Regions from separate parts of the Homo sapiens genome. Here all the other regions are linked to region 1. The links are contacts of gene promoters, found by promoter capture Hi-C in human tissues and cell types (Jung and others, 2019). All regions are on one chromosome and are shown on one strand. Each heading gives the region's core, a stretch centred on a gene start or on the middle of the fragment in contact. The rest is flanking DNA. Distances are from core to core; before and after follow the strand shown. Region 1 holds the start of FRG2C (FSHD region gene 2 family member C). Region 2 has its middle 41 kb from the start of MIR4444-2. Region 3 has its middle 310 kb from the start of ZNF717.

Region 1 (4,308 bases), core at 1,282-3,781:
TTTGTATATATGATATTATATAATTATCAAAGAGGGACAATTTGACTTTCTAATTACAACCACATAGATGCTCCCACCAAGACCAATAGACAGAGTCTCTGGGGAGGGCACAGGTGATGGTATTTCTTTAAGCTGGCCGTGTGATTATGACTGGAAGCATGGGCTGAGAGCCACTTAGCTAAGCATTGCCTCTCAAGTTTTTCTTTCTTTTCTTTTCTTTTCTTTTCTTTCGACAGAGTTTTCACTCATTGTCCAGGCAGGAGTGCAGTGGCACCATCTTGGCCCATGGCAACCTCCACCTCCCAGGTTTGAGTGATTCTGCAGTCTCAGCCACCCGAGTAGCTAGGATTATAGGCAACAGCCACCACATCTGGCTAATTTTTGTATGTTTTAGTAGAGACATGATTTGACCATGTTGCCCAGGCTGGTCTTGAACTCCTGACCTCAGGTGATCTGCCCACTTCAGCCTCCCAACTAGCTGGGATTACAGGCGTGAGCCACCACATTCAGTTAATTTTTTTTTTTTTTTTTTTTTTTGTATTTTTAGTACAGATGGGGTTTCCTTATGTTGGCTAGGCTAGCCTTGAACTCCTGACCTAAGGCGATCCACCCGCCTTGGCCTCGCAAAGTGCTGGGATTACAGGCATGAGGCACCGTGCCTGGCCAGACCTGAGTTTTGCCTGAGAATTTCTCTTTCTAAGAAAGTACATCATATGGCAGTTACAAGGTCTCTTTTATCTAAAATATATAGAATTTAATAAATAAAAATTTAAAAAATTTACCTGAGATTAAAGGACAAATCAAAACACATATGTAATATGTTGTCTGTAGGAGTATATTTTAACAGTGACATAAATTATTAATAATCACTAAATGTTATAATAATTTATTAACTAAAATGAACAAAATTCCTATTATGATATCTATGAAAATACTTCCTTAGAGTAAAATATTCTCATATCTTGAGAGGGCACTGGTTAAAAACAGCAAAGATGTGGAAGTCGATGTCTTATCAAGTACTTACTATCAAGTAAGTAGCAGACCCCCTTCACACCTTTTACAGAGTTATCCAAAAAGCAGTCATTTACACAAGAGCAGACAATTTTCCTAGCTTTCTATTGAGTTTATATGTTAATATTGTTAAAAAATGTAACTCAATTTTCTTATAAAATTACCTGACCAAATTTTATATATCATATCAAAATTTATTTAGATGTCAAATAAATTTTATAATATTATAATATATAATGATATCATATTATGATAAGTTCCATTTACATTCAGACAATTTCACTAGGCAGTGTCTGTCTACCACTAATTCTTTTTTGGTTCCACTATTTGCACAGGCAGCACAGCTGGGAAAACACAGACTCACCCAACACAGTCTCTTCCCCGTGTCTTTCTCCTCCTCAAGGAATCATTTCATCAGTCAATCAAGTCATTTGGGACTGGAGGCCGAGTACTCCCTAACATAGAAAGTCTCATTCCTGCATGCTTTCCTCAGCAGAGGGGGAGAGAAGAAGGTCCTTTTAGGGGACACTTGCTTGGACGTAGCCTAGGCTAGTTGGAGGGCTCTGACCAGCAGAGACAGACTCCGCCGCAGTAGGAAGGGATGAGGCAGCTATTCTGAACCTGGAGCTCCACCACACTTTGTCCCGTCTCACTGAGGCAATTTTGAGAGGCTGCCCTGGAATATGGTGGTTGTTGAGAAATAATGTGGGCTTTGACGGGATTCAGGTGGTGTCTGCGGTGTGAAGACAGGAGCTGAATGTTTAGAATCTAGGCTGTTTTTCTTGTGATCAGCTGGGTTACCTGTTTGCGACCAAGTCCATTTTTACTAGGGAGGCTGAATAAATTCCACAGAACACAATGGCCCTCCCAGGATGACTGAGGAAGGGTGAGAAAGGGGGAAAGTTTTTCCACCTAGAATCAGGGGCTGATTAGGTTAGCACTGGCTCAACCTAATCAATGCAATTTTATTGCATTTGATCTAATTATCTTCCCCATTTTTAAGGTAGGAAGGGCCATTTCATTTGGTATTTATTTTTTCTCTGCACTTTTATTTCATCATCTATGTGTGGATCTAATAGACTCAACCATAATTTGACATTTGTTGTTTCCAAGCATTTAAGAAATTATAATATCTATGCATACAACGTTAACACTATGTATAATAAATTCTCTTTCTGTGCAAAATATATAACATATGTCAATATAGACATGTTTAATTGTGCATCTTGAAAGGTGAACAGGATCATAAATACCTCCAGGTAGGAACTGGGACAGAAATCGGAAGAAATGATTCCCTGATCTTCCGGTCCCTGTGCTCCCGGTTCTTTGTTTTCTTGACACTATGACAAGATCCTGAAAATGTCTCCCCTTAACTGTGTCTAGGTCCCCAGTAGAACTACAGCAAGAAACTTCTGATTGAGGCTCTAAGAAGCGGCAGGAATGAGAAAACTCTTCAGCCAATAAGAGTAAGCCACGCCCAGCCGAGGGACGTATAAAAGGCAGGTCTAGCAGACTAACCCACACTCTGCCTTTGGACATGTGAGAGAGCGCACCTTTCACTTGAGCTTCAACATGGGAAAGGGAAATGAAGACCCCGATCTCCACTGTTCCTCCATCCAGTGCTCCACTGACCAGCCCCCTTTCCAACAGATCTCCTTTACAGAAAAGGGCTCAGATGAGAAGAAACCATTCAAAGGAAAAGGCAAGACCGCCTTCTCCCATTCCAGTGAGAAGCACACACAAAGGCAAGGTAAGGCCTTGGGCTGCTCCTATGGAGGCTGGAAGGAGGGTTGGAATCAGGGATACTGAGCTATGTGTCTTTAGCAGGGTTTTATTTTGAGATTTGGGGATGGGAAATGGCTTAGTGCCCTTAGGGGACTTTGAGAAATGTGTTCACTCATGACACTGGCAGAAGAGCTTCACATGAAAGACTGATTCTCAAAAATGCATGAGAGATAGACTATGGGACTCTGCCTAGGGAGAGGTGAGCCATCTAAACCTTCTCTTGCAGCAGGATCAGATCCCAATCCAAACAAGGAGAATTCTGAGGAAACCAAGCTCAAGGCCGGGAACAGCACTGCTGGATCAGGTAAGATTTGACTCTTTCAAGGTGAGAAGGGACAGGGCAGCAACACAGGCTCCCCTGGCAAGGAAACTGGGAGCTCCTTGGCAGCCAGGGCAGTACAGATCCTGGACACTGGAGAACAGAAGAGAGCTGGGGTTTGGCGGTAACCTCAGCTCCTGTGTGTCCAGGATGGACTAGGAATTTCAGGGTGTTCAGTTGGAGGCACTTTCTCAAACTCTCATTGTGTTCACAGAACCAGAGTCCAGCTCATATCAGGAAAACTGCAGGAAAAGAAAAATCAGTTCCAAGGATATCTGCCAAGACAGAGCAGGTAGAATCTTGGTGTTTGTTGTTGTTGGTGGTGGTGGTGGTTTTTTTGTTTTTGGTTTGCCCCAAAAGGCAAATAATCAGGAAACTTTTATACGAGGCTTGAGCGGAAAGGGAATTACTTATTGACAAGTAAATTTTTGAGATCCTAGCACTCTGAGAATATTTGGGGACTCACAAGTGGTTCAGCCTCACTTCATTCCAGTCCTGAGATGGTCAGGAAGGAGTGGGAGAGACAAATGGGGTTCACCTGGGTGCACAGGGGGTTCTGGAAATGAGGGTCTGTGGGGACTGCTCTGGTGAGTCTCTCACATGCTTTCTTTGCAGGGAACTGTCCAGAAGAGGAGTGCAACTTGACGTTGAATAAAAAATCAAGATCCTCCACTGCTGTGCACAACAGTGAAATCCAGGAGACCTGTGATGCCCACCATAGGGGAAGTTCCAGGGCTTGCACTGGGCGCAGCAAGCGGCATAGGTCTCGGGCCCTAGAAGTCCAAACACCGTCACTTCGAAAAAGCTTGGTGACCTCTGTGCGAGCTATGTCGGAGGCTGTTTATCAAGACCTAGCCCAGGTGTGGGCACAGCAGATCCATTCTCCACTGACCTGTGAGCAGCTGACACTGCTCACTCGGCTCCGGGGGCCTCTGTGTGCCCAGGTGCAGACCTTGTATTCCATGGCCACTCAGGCAGCTTATGTCTTCCCTGCTGAGAGCTGGCTTGTCCCAGCCACACTGCCTGGTCCTGGGGATTCAGCCCTGGATAGAGAAGCCCATCCCTTCCCTGGGCAGGAGATAACTGAGCCTGTCAGTGGATCAGATGAGGCTAAGCTGGGAGCACCCTGACCCTATTCAGCAGAGATGCAGCTCTGGGAATGAGAACAAGGACCTGCTTCTTCTCAGATTCTT
Region 2 (4,750 bases), core at 1,753-4,252, 410 kb before region 1:
GCCTCCCAAGTAGCTGGGATTACAGGTGAATGCGACTACACCCGTCTAATTTTTTTTTCTTTTTCTTTTTTTTTTTTTTTGAGACAGAGTCGCTCGATGTCACCCAGGCTGGAGTCCAATGGCGTGATCTCGGTTCACTGCAACCCCCGGGGTTGAAGTGATTCTCCCTGCCTCAGCTTCCCGAGTAGCTGGGATTACAGGTGCCCACCACCACGCCCAGCTAAGTTTTATATTTTTAGTAGAGACAGGGTTTCACCACGTTGGCCAGGCTGGTATCAAACTCTTGACCTCAGATGATCCACCTGCCTCAGCCTCCCAAAGTGCTGAGATTACAGGCGTGAGCCACTGCACCTGGCCAGTTTTTGTATTTTTAGTAGGAACAGGGTTTCACCGTGTTGGCCAGGCTGGTCTTGAACTCCTGACCTCAAGTGATCTGCCCACCTTGGCCTCCCAAAGTTTTGGGATTACAGGCGTCAGCCACTGCACCGGGCCCCTATTTTTCCTTTGTATTTCAATATTTCTCTTTGGGAAGTTTCTATTGAACTTTCCTTGGCTGTGTCAAATCTACTCATAAGCCCATCAAAGGCATTTTTCATATCCATATATAGGATTTTTTATTTCCAGAATTTTCTTTTGTTTCTTAGAGTTTCTATCTCTCTGCTGACATTACCCATTACTGTTTCCTTTAAGGTCCTTAAAATGTTAATCATACTTATTTTAAAAAGATAATTCCAACATCTGAATCATATCTAAGTGTTGTTCTGATGGTAGCTTTGTCTCTTCAGATTGTGTTTCTCCTCATCCTTTATCATGCCTTGTAATACTTTGTAGAAATCTACACATGCATCAGGTAACAGGAACTGAGATAAATAAGTCTTCAGTGTGAACATTTATTTTAACCTTTCTAGGGGTAGGATTGTGTTTAATATTTGCTGTAGCTGTAGGTGCCAGAGACTTCAAATTCAGCTGATGATCTTATTTTTTTCTTTGGTCTCCCCTCTTGACTTTGTGCTTCCCTAAGTATGTACTTCTTTTCAAATAGAGAGCTTTTTCAGTTGTAATCCACTGTCATTGTGTTGAAACCTGATGGTATGGTGTTAAGATGTAGGAGAGATATTGCATGATTAAAATCCTCCAATTAAATCTTAGTGGTTTTTTTTTTTTTTTTTTGAGATGAAGCTGTGTTGTTGTCTGGGGAAATACTGGAGGTTCATTGTCTCATGCCAAGGAAATCAAGGATGCAGAAACATAAAGAGTGCGCCTGAGAGTGGAAGTTTAGGCTGGACACGGTGGTTCACGCCTGTAATCCCAGCACTTTGGGAGGCCGAGGCGGGTGGATAATGAGATCAGGAGTTCAAGACCAGCCTGGCCAAGATGGTGAAACCCTGTTTGTACTGAGCGAGACTCCGTCTCAAAAAAAAAAAAAAAAAAAAAAGAACGGAAGTTTAATAGACAAAAGAAAGAAGAAAGCTTCCTTGTGCAGAGGAAGGGGACTGGAATGGGTTTCTAGCCTTGCAACAAGATGCAGCTGCTTTTACAGATGAGCTTGAGGAGGCAGTGTCTGATTTACAAAGGGCACAGAGGATTGGTTGGACCAGATGTGCCATTTACATAGCACACAAAGAGGCTGGTCATCCAACCCTGATCTTTTATTATGTAAATGGAGTTTTCTACCTGGCCTGCGCCATGCTGCCCATTTCTTTACTGCACATGTGGCGACAAAGAAAAGGGACCCCTATGTTGAATATACCTGACTTCCAGGTGTCCTTTTTCTATTGGCACAGCTGCCGGCATTCATCTGTGCAAGCTTCCACTTGCTTATCTATGCTTGCAGCTTGATTTTGCAGGCTGCTTTTTGTTAGAAAAGAAATTATTTGGGGGGTGCTTTTTATTAAAAGGGAAACCTTGCCGAGGACTCTGTTACCTTCACTATCTGCCTAAATAATTTCTTTTTAGCTCCTGTGTCAGAGATAGGGTCTTGCTCTGTCACCCAGGCTGGAGTGCAGTGATGTGATAGAACTTCTGGGTCTCCCAAGAGGCTAGGGTTACAGGCACTTCCACCACCATGCCCCACTTAAATCTCAGTGTCTATATCCTGGGGCTATGACCTTCATGATCTAGCTTTTATCCCCCTATCTCTCCCTATTCCCTTCCCTGGCTGCAGCATCCGCATTGTATTTCCTTGAAACCTTGATTGCTGTTGATTTGTTTTCCCTTCTTAGGTGAGACCAGGAGGCTAAAGGGAGCTTCAGTGGGAGGAATGCCTCTACTGTGATAAACTCTTAGCAGAGTCTTTCTTTTGGAGTGTCAGCCTTTGTTAAGGAGAAGACTGAGCTATTTCACAATGATTACTCTTCCCTTCCACCTGCCAGAGCCATGAAAAAACATCTTTTCAGATGTTTACTGTGAGAACCTGGTGGGGTTCCTAAATATAAAGCCCTTTAAAGTGTGGGAGACCCCTACCCCTAAATATCCAGCTCCTAATAGTTTCTCACTCTCACAGTAATTCATACACAACCCGCAGCAATTCATTACATTTACCATATGATGTTCCTATCAGTGTATGGCACCAGCTTCTTCTCTTCCAGGTAAGCAGATCTCAGGTGTGTCTCTCTGGATGCACCCGATGAGTCCAAGAAAAGTCATTGATTTTCAGTTGGTTCAACTGTTTCTTGTCATAGGCCAAGTATGACGTCCACGTTCTTTACATGTCAGAGCTGAACCAGACTCCTAAGCCTTTTTTTTTTTTTTTTAACTTTTTTCTTTTCTTTTTTGATGTTTAGAAGATATGGCAGTATTCCAGCACATGTTAAGAGTATCCTGGATGGGAGTATGGCAACCACTAAAGCCAGTCTCTAGTCTTTTCAATTCCACCAAGTTCTTTGAAGAATGAAATGACTTTCTCCGGCAATCACAGCCTTGCAGAAAATCTGTGCTCCTCGAGCATAAATGCTAGTTGAAGCTAACAGGGACAGAGTTGATTAATGAAGTAAAGGTACAATGCTGCTCCTGTTAATACATGCAAAGTTTACATGTTCCCAACATCAACGGGCTTTTGCCTAACTGTGATATCTTCTCTGAGCTAGTAATCTAGGTTGAGGTACTTGAGGGGTTCAGAGTATACCACCCCAAAATATACTACTCTGGCATAAGAATTGTTTTGAGCTAAAGGCAATTGAGGAAAAAACAGACACAGGACACACTCTCTGTCCTTCCTTTCTCTACTAGGAAGACTAGAACAATTCTTAATCACCTGAGACAATGCTGGACTCTTATCAGCCCAGAGATGGCACCAGAGGAACCTATATAACTTTACTAAAAGAAATTTTATCTTCTATTAGTTTCAGCCCCTATATATAGCCCACCACAAGTTATAGCCCTTGGAAGGCTAAAAGTCTTTTCTCTTATGTCTTGCCATTTTTCTACAAATTTATTATTATTTGCTAACGTACTATATATGCACAAGTTCTTTTTCTTTTTTTTTTATTTTTTTATTTTTCCTGAGACAAGGTCTTGCTCTGTCACCCAGGCTGCAATGCAGTGATGTGATCATAGTTTACTGCAGCCTCCAACTCCTGGCCCAAGGGATCCTCTAGCCTCAGCCTCCCAAGTAGCTAAGACTACAGGTGCACACCACCACACCTAGCTAATTTTGTACTTTTTGTAGAGATGTGGTCTTGCTATGCTGCCCAGTCTGGTATGCTCAAGTTTAATCACCCCTTTGAGTCACTTGTCACTGAGGTTTCTCCCAAGTGATGTGCACTGCACATATTAATAAACTCTTTGTTTTTCTCATATTAATCTGTCTTTTGTGAGTTTAGTTTACAATGAACATAAGATAGTGTCTTATTCTATTCGGGCTTTTATAACAAATTACCGTAGACCCAATATTTATTTCTCACAATCCTGGAGGCTGGAAGTCTTAGATCAGAGTGCCAGCATAGTTAGGGTCTGGTAAGAGTCCTCTTCCAGTTTGCACAGTTGGCATCTCCTTGTATCCTCACATAATGTAAAAAGAACAAGCTAGCTGTCCAGCCTGCTCTTGTAAGGGCACTAGTCCCATTCATGACAGTTCCACTCTCATGACCTAATTACTTCCCAAAGGCCACAACCTCTAAACGCCATTATATTGGGATTCAAGTTTCAATATGAATTTTGGGGGAACACAAACATTCAGTCCATTGCAGATGGGTAAAGGGAAAAGATTTTTCCTTCCCTACATACTCCATTTGTTATCTATTCTGAGGCTTGAGAATTTCCTACAAAACTGGTATGTTTAGATAGAGAAAGAGAAATTTTGCTAAATGATGCCTGTAAAGCTTAGCAGTTAGAAGTTTATATATCTAAAATCCTAATAAGCCTATGTTGGATGATACCTTATAAATCCTCCCTTCTTTCATTTTGAGGGAAGGAGCTGAGTCTTAGAGAGGTTGAGCCACATGTTCAAGAGTTTAACAAGTAATGGGGTCAGTAGAAGCCGTGTCTTTCTAACTCTAAAGATAATGGCAGCCTGTGTAAGACAGAGACTCTTAGGTTTTGTGTTGTCTCCTCTCTATGCTTCTTCCCTCTACCTCAAGACCTCTCCTACCAGAGCCTGTCTAAAGCCATGAATAGATGGAGCTTTTTCTATTGCTGCTGCAACAAATTACCACAAATTTAGTGTCAAGTAATACATATTTTATGTTATAGTTCTGGAGGTCAGAGTCCAAAATAGATTACTAGGCTAAAATGAAAGTATCTGTAGGGCTGC
Region 3 (4,305 bases), core at 225-2,724, 430 kb after region 1:
TTTATATAAATTGCTTGGAATGATTTTTTTTCTCCAACCTCATTCTTTTTAAGAACTCAAATGGAATTTGTTTTCAGTTAAGATCCTAAAATTTACAGTTGAGCTTCATATCTAAATGGTTTCCTTATTTCAGTTAAAGAGGGATGAACCATAAATATTACTTTTTATATCTATAAATGTTTATATCAGAGAAATAAGCCACCTTATAGAAAACATGGTAGAGTCAATGATAGTGATAGTTTACAGGAAAATGTGTGGCATTTTATACTACTTCTGTGTTATCAACTTTTAGAATAAAAGTCTCTTTTATAGACTTGGTCAGCCTCATAAGTATAAGAATCTACAACAACATAGTTAGAAATATTCATAGGGTTGTCTGGTTAAGATATCAAGCATTTGAGGTTTCTAATTTTCCCTCTCAGATTTGTGAAAAAAATTAAAAGCTATGGACCAAATATGTGCCAGATCACAAAAAGAATTCCTGACAACCACAGGTACATGGAGCCCTGAGGAAGAATAGGGGAATGTGCTGGAAAGTGTATAACAATCTCGAGTGCACACTCGCACTCACACACACACACACACACACAAGCACACACAATCTAAAGAAACAAAGAAATACACCCCTCAGAAAGTCTGAAAGAATTTTTCTCAAAATAATCAATTCTGTGTGCCTGCCTTGTAGGATCGGCCCATCCAGTGACCAGATGGATGCGGCAAAGCGCTCTTAATCCTCAGAAGCAGGAAGGAGACCTGCCAGGGCAGGCAGCCCTCACTAATTTTTCTCCAGCAAATCTTCCCAACAACACAGTGCCACTAAGAGAGACATGTGTTTGAGATTTTGTTTTATTTTCAAGGATTCACAGTCAATAACGAAATACAGCTGGGCTTAGAAGAGTTGTGGGAGAAGGATGCCCTGAGACTCCATCTAGCAAGGAAAGAATTAAGTCTTCTCTGGAAGATCCACAAATAAAATGTACTGCTCTTTACAAAATGACACCATGATTCAGTTATTTTAGAATGTGCAATTATGTTATGATTGACTATAGTAACCCCATTGTTTCTTTGAAAGCAGTATCTTCACTGTGAAATGAAACCTGAAATATTCAAGGAAGGAGAATTCATTCTTCCTCTATCATCAAATAACAAAACTATGTAAATATTGTTCATTTCAAAAAGAATAAATAAGGGAGAAAGGGAAACTACAAAATCAGCCAATATGTTTACAGGATAGAATACAGCTTTCAGGTTACTGAAGGAAATTCTTCTTTTCCAAATAGAAATAAATTGTAGATGCTTTGTACTATCAACAAATTTTAGATAAGTTAGAGTTCATGAAGCAGGATAGATGAGATGGGACAACTGACTGATATGAAAAGTGACTTCTGAGTTAGGTGGCGGTAAAGCTTTTAAAGATTATATAATATAAACAATAATCTCAGCATTAATGTCAGCATCAAAAGCAATAAGAAGTAGAATTAAATTGTAGGAAAAAGCGATATGGAAGACACACTAAAAAAGCTCTCTTTTAATTTTGGGCTGAGTATGGGTGAGTATGAGACTAAGATGCAAAAGACACAGTGAGAATGAGAAGATAATATGGTGAACAGAGAGAGAAAATCCAAATATGGAACTTTGTTGCTGATATCAGAACACATGGGAGATAAGCAGTAGTGAAAGACTTAATAGAAAAAAAACCTGAAAGCTAAGGCAACTATACATTGTGAATTTAAAAGGCCCATTATGTAAGAGAAAAAATTAATGAAGTCCTGCAGAGAAACAAATAATTTTTTCCAATAATAAAGAGAAATGTGAAATCACTAAACCAAAAAGGAAAGATAATATAATAAAAGAAAAAAAATTAAATTTGTTACAAACATCTGTGCAAAACCAAATAAGACAAGCATAGGTTGGGCTGACCACTAGTTATAAATAACATTATATCAATTGATATAATGATAACTCAAATAATGAAATGTCAAAGCTCCATGGTTGTCTATATATGAAGGCAACACTAACCTATTATTAGGCATATGGGGACTTAGGGTCCACTGAATATCTAAAATTTATTGGATAACAACAAAACTCCACATAGAAAATACTGTAGTACTATCTATGGTATTGTCAATGTGTGTGTATGGCACATATATTATGAATTATATACAAGACACATAGTATGCTTGACACACACACACACACACACACACACACACACACACACAAGATAATCATCTGGTAAATATAACAAGGAAATCTAACATACAAACAAAGCAAAATTAGAAATAGAAATTGCAAAGACATAAATGTGTAAAATATATAATACTAAGCTAATACATTTGAAGATATTGATGACATTAATAATTTTCTAGAAAATAATTTACCAAACATTAAGCTGAACAAATATCAAGTCATGTACTTAAGTGAAATTTTAAAAGGTATTAAAGAATATCCTCATAAGGTATAACATAACAAAATAACCTTTATCTCTAAGGAGATAAAAAGAACCCATATTGACAGGCCTCGTAAGCAATAATCTCCTCATGTGTGCAGTGCATGTCATAGGCAGTTCTCATGTTCTGAGAATCCTGTGATTCTGGGCCATCTTCCATCACAGACCTCGAGTTTACTTGGGCCACCTTTATGATCAATTACATTTTAAGAAGAGCCTTCTGACCTACATTCTCATGCTGAATGACTCATAAATAACTTTGAGATAATAAACTAGCCAGCATCATAACTTGGGTAACAAGAATATTCAGAAGAAAAGCACTTTAAAAATAAGAGAAATTAAACTAATCTTTAAAAAAAATCTCCCCAGAAGAGGTATATTTTACGGAGAAATTGTGCTGTTAACCCAGAGGAAGATCACATTATCTTGTTTTAATTACCTCCAATTCAAAGGTAAGTAACACAGAGAAGGATTTTCAGCATGATTCAACAGTAGAATCCAATGCATTTGAGTGTTTATTTTTTTATGTATTTGTGGTTAGGTCATTTATTGATTTGTTTTAGAATTTATCTCTGAATTTCTATAGATTATGATAATTAATAATACAAATAATAACATTAAGCATTTACTGAGTATTGACAATATGCTAGGCATCATGCAAAACACTTGGTTTTACCAGTATTGTCTCATTTAATCCTTACTACAACCCAGCAAGATAGGTGTTGCTATTATCTTCATTTCATAGAAAAGTAAACTGAAACATAATCATTTATACAACAATGTAACTATGTAACCACAATATTGTAGAGACGAGTTAATGAACATCCACCATGAACAAAACAGACACATATCCTTGCCTTTGTAATGCTTATAGTCTAGTGAGAAACATGCATTGGAAAAATTAGTTATGGGCAGACGACTGACAAAACTCTCTGTCTTTGCTACATGAGAATCTGACTTTTGGCTAACTCTCTAGTTCTGTTCTCCTGGAAACCTGGTAAACATAGATTGTCTGCTACATTACTCAGCAACATTATCTATGATTAAAAAAAAGTGACCCCAGGTTGGTCAGTTGCATCTGGACTGGTGGGAAATGTAAAGAGACTATCAATATGTCGTGGGAATGCCGTATTTTGGGTTTTACTGAATGTGGTGAATCTTGTTAATGAAGCATGTACTCTGTGCCAACCCTATGTGCTGCAGCCACAGAGTTGTTAAAAGAAATCCTAGCTTCTCTGACGGCATGAGCCTATTTGTCAGGATGGCCCCAACCCGTTCCCAGTGCAGATCTCATAGCCTAGCACCTGAACTTGCTCCTGGAGAGCTACATGGTCCGTTCTTGGGACTGCAGCAGGGGCTCCTGCTGAGAAGAGCTATTGATGCTTCCGTGCTGGCCAGCTGTGGTTCATTAATATCCTTCTGCATAGATGAGTTCCTGGTGTGTCATGTGATAGTCTTAGAATTCTGAATATTTAGCTAAATCTAAGGAGACTAATGAGTATTGTGATAGGCAAGACTGTGCATGGCAGATGGTGATAAGTTTTCTGATTAGCAAAGAGAGATAGAAAATGTCAAAGAGTGGAGGTTTAGTGGTGGAAATTAAAATAAACAAAAATTAACAGGGTAATCAGGGAGGATCTCACTGAGATGGGGACATTTTAAAAAATATGTGGGAAACATGTGCAGAACGTAGGAAGCAGCGAATACACATACACAAGTCCATGCAACTGTAATCTCTGTGAGGGCTGGAACTCTGTTTTGCTTCCCCACTTTTTCTCCAGAATATATTCTAGTTCTTGATGAGTAGTAGCTTAAAAAATGAATGAATAAGAGGTCAAGTTGGGTTTAGGAATATG

The links. The method cuts DNA at HindIII sites, captures the fragments that hold promoters and counts their contacts. A contact is called where the count stands out against the background at its distance.
Region 2: a fragment that was not itself captured here is called in contact with the fragment with the promoter of FRG2C in region 1 in 5 of the 25 tissues and cell types used here (dorsolateral prefrontal cortex, liver, mesendoderm cells and 2 more).
Region 3: a fragment that was not itself captured here is called in contact with the fragment with the promoter of FRG2C in region 1 in 1 of the 25 tissues and cell types used here (mesenchymal stem cells).

What each region holds. Positions count from the first base shown.
Region 1 is chr3:75,661,797-75,666,104 of GRCh38, forward strand. It overlaps FRG2C (FSHD region gene 2 family member C), which reads left to right and starts at 2,532. Exons shown (of 4, transcript NM_001124759.5): 1 at 2,532-2,761; 2 at 3,023-3,100; 3 at 3,330-3,407; 4 at 3,731-4,308. The coding sequence starts at 2,584. The coding sequence ends at 4,245. The HindIII fragment of the contact is 22,089 bases long and covers 1-4,308 here.
Region 2 is chr3:75,253,243-75,257,992 of GRCh38, forward strand. No RefSeq gene overlaps it. Among named protein-coding and RNA genes, the nearest start is that of MIR4444-2, 41 kb to the left of the region's middle. RefSeq lists an enhancer at 1,972-2,538. The HindIII fragment of the contact is 5,517 bases long and covers 245-4,750 here.
Region 3 is chr3:76,093,567-76,097,871 of GRCh38, forward strand. It overlaps a transcript of ROBO2 not described here. Among named protein-coding and RNA genes, the nearest start is that of ZNF717, 310 kb to the left of the region's middle. The HindIII fragment of the contact is 8,540 bases long and covers 1-4,305 here.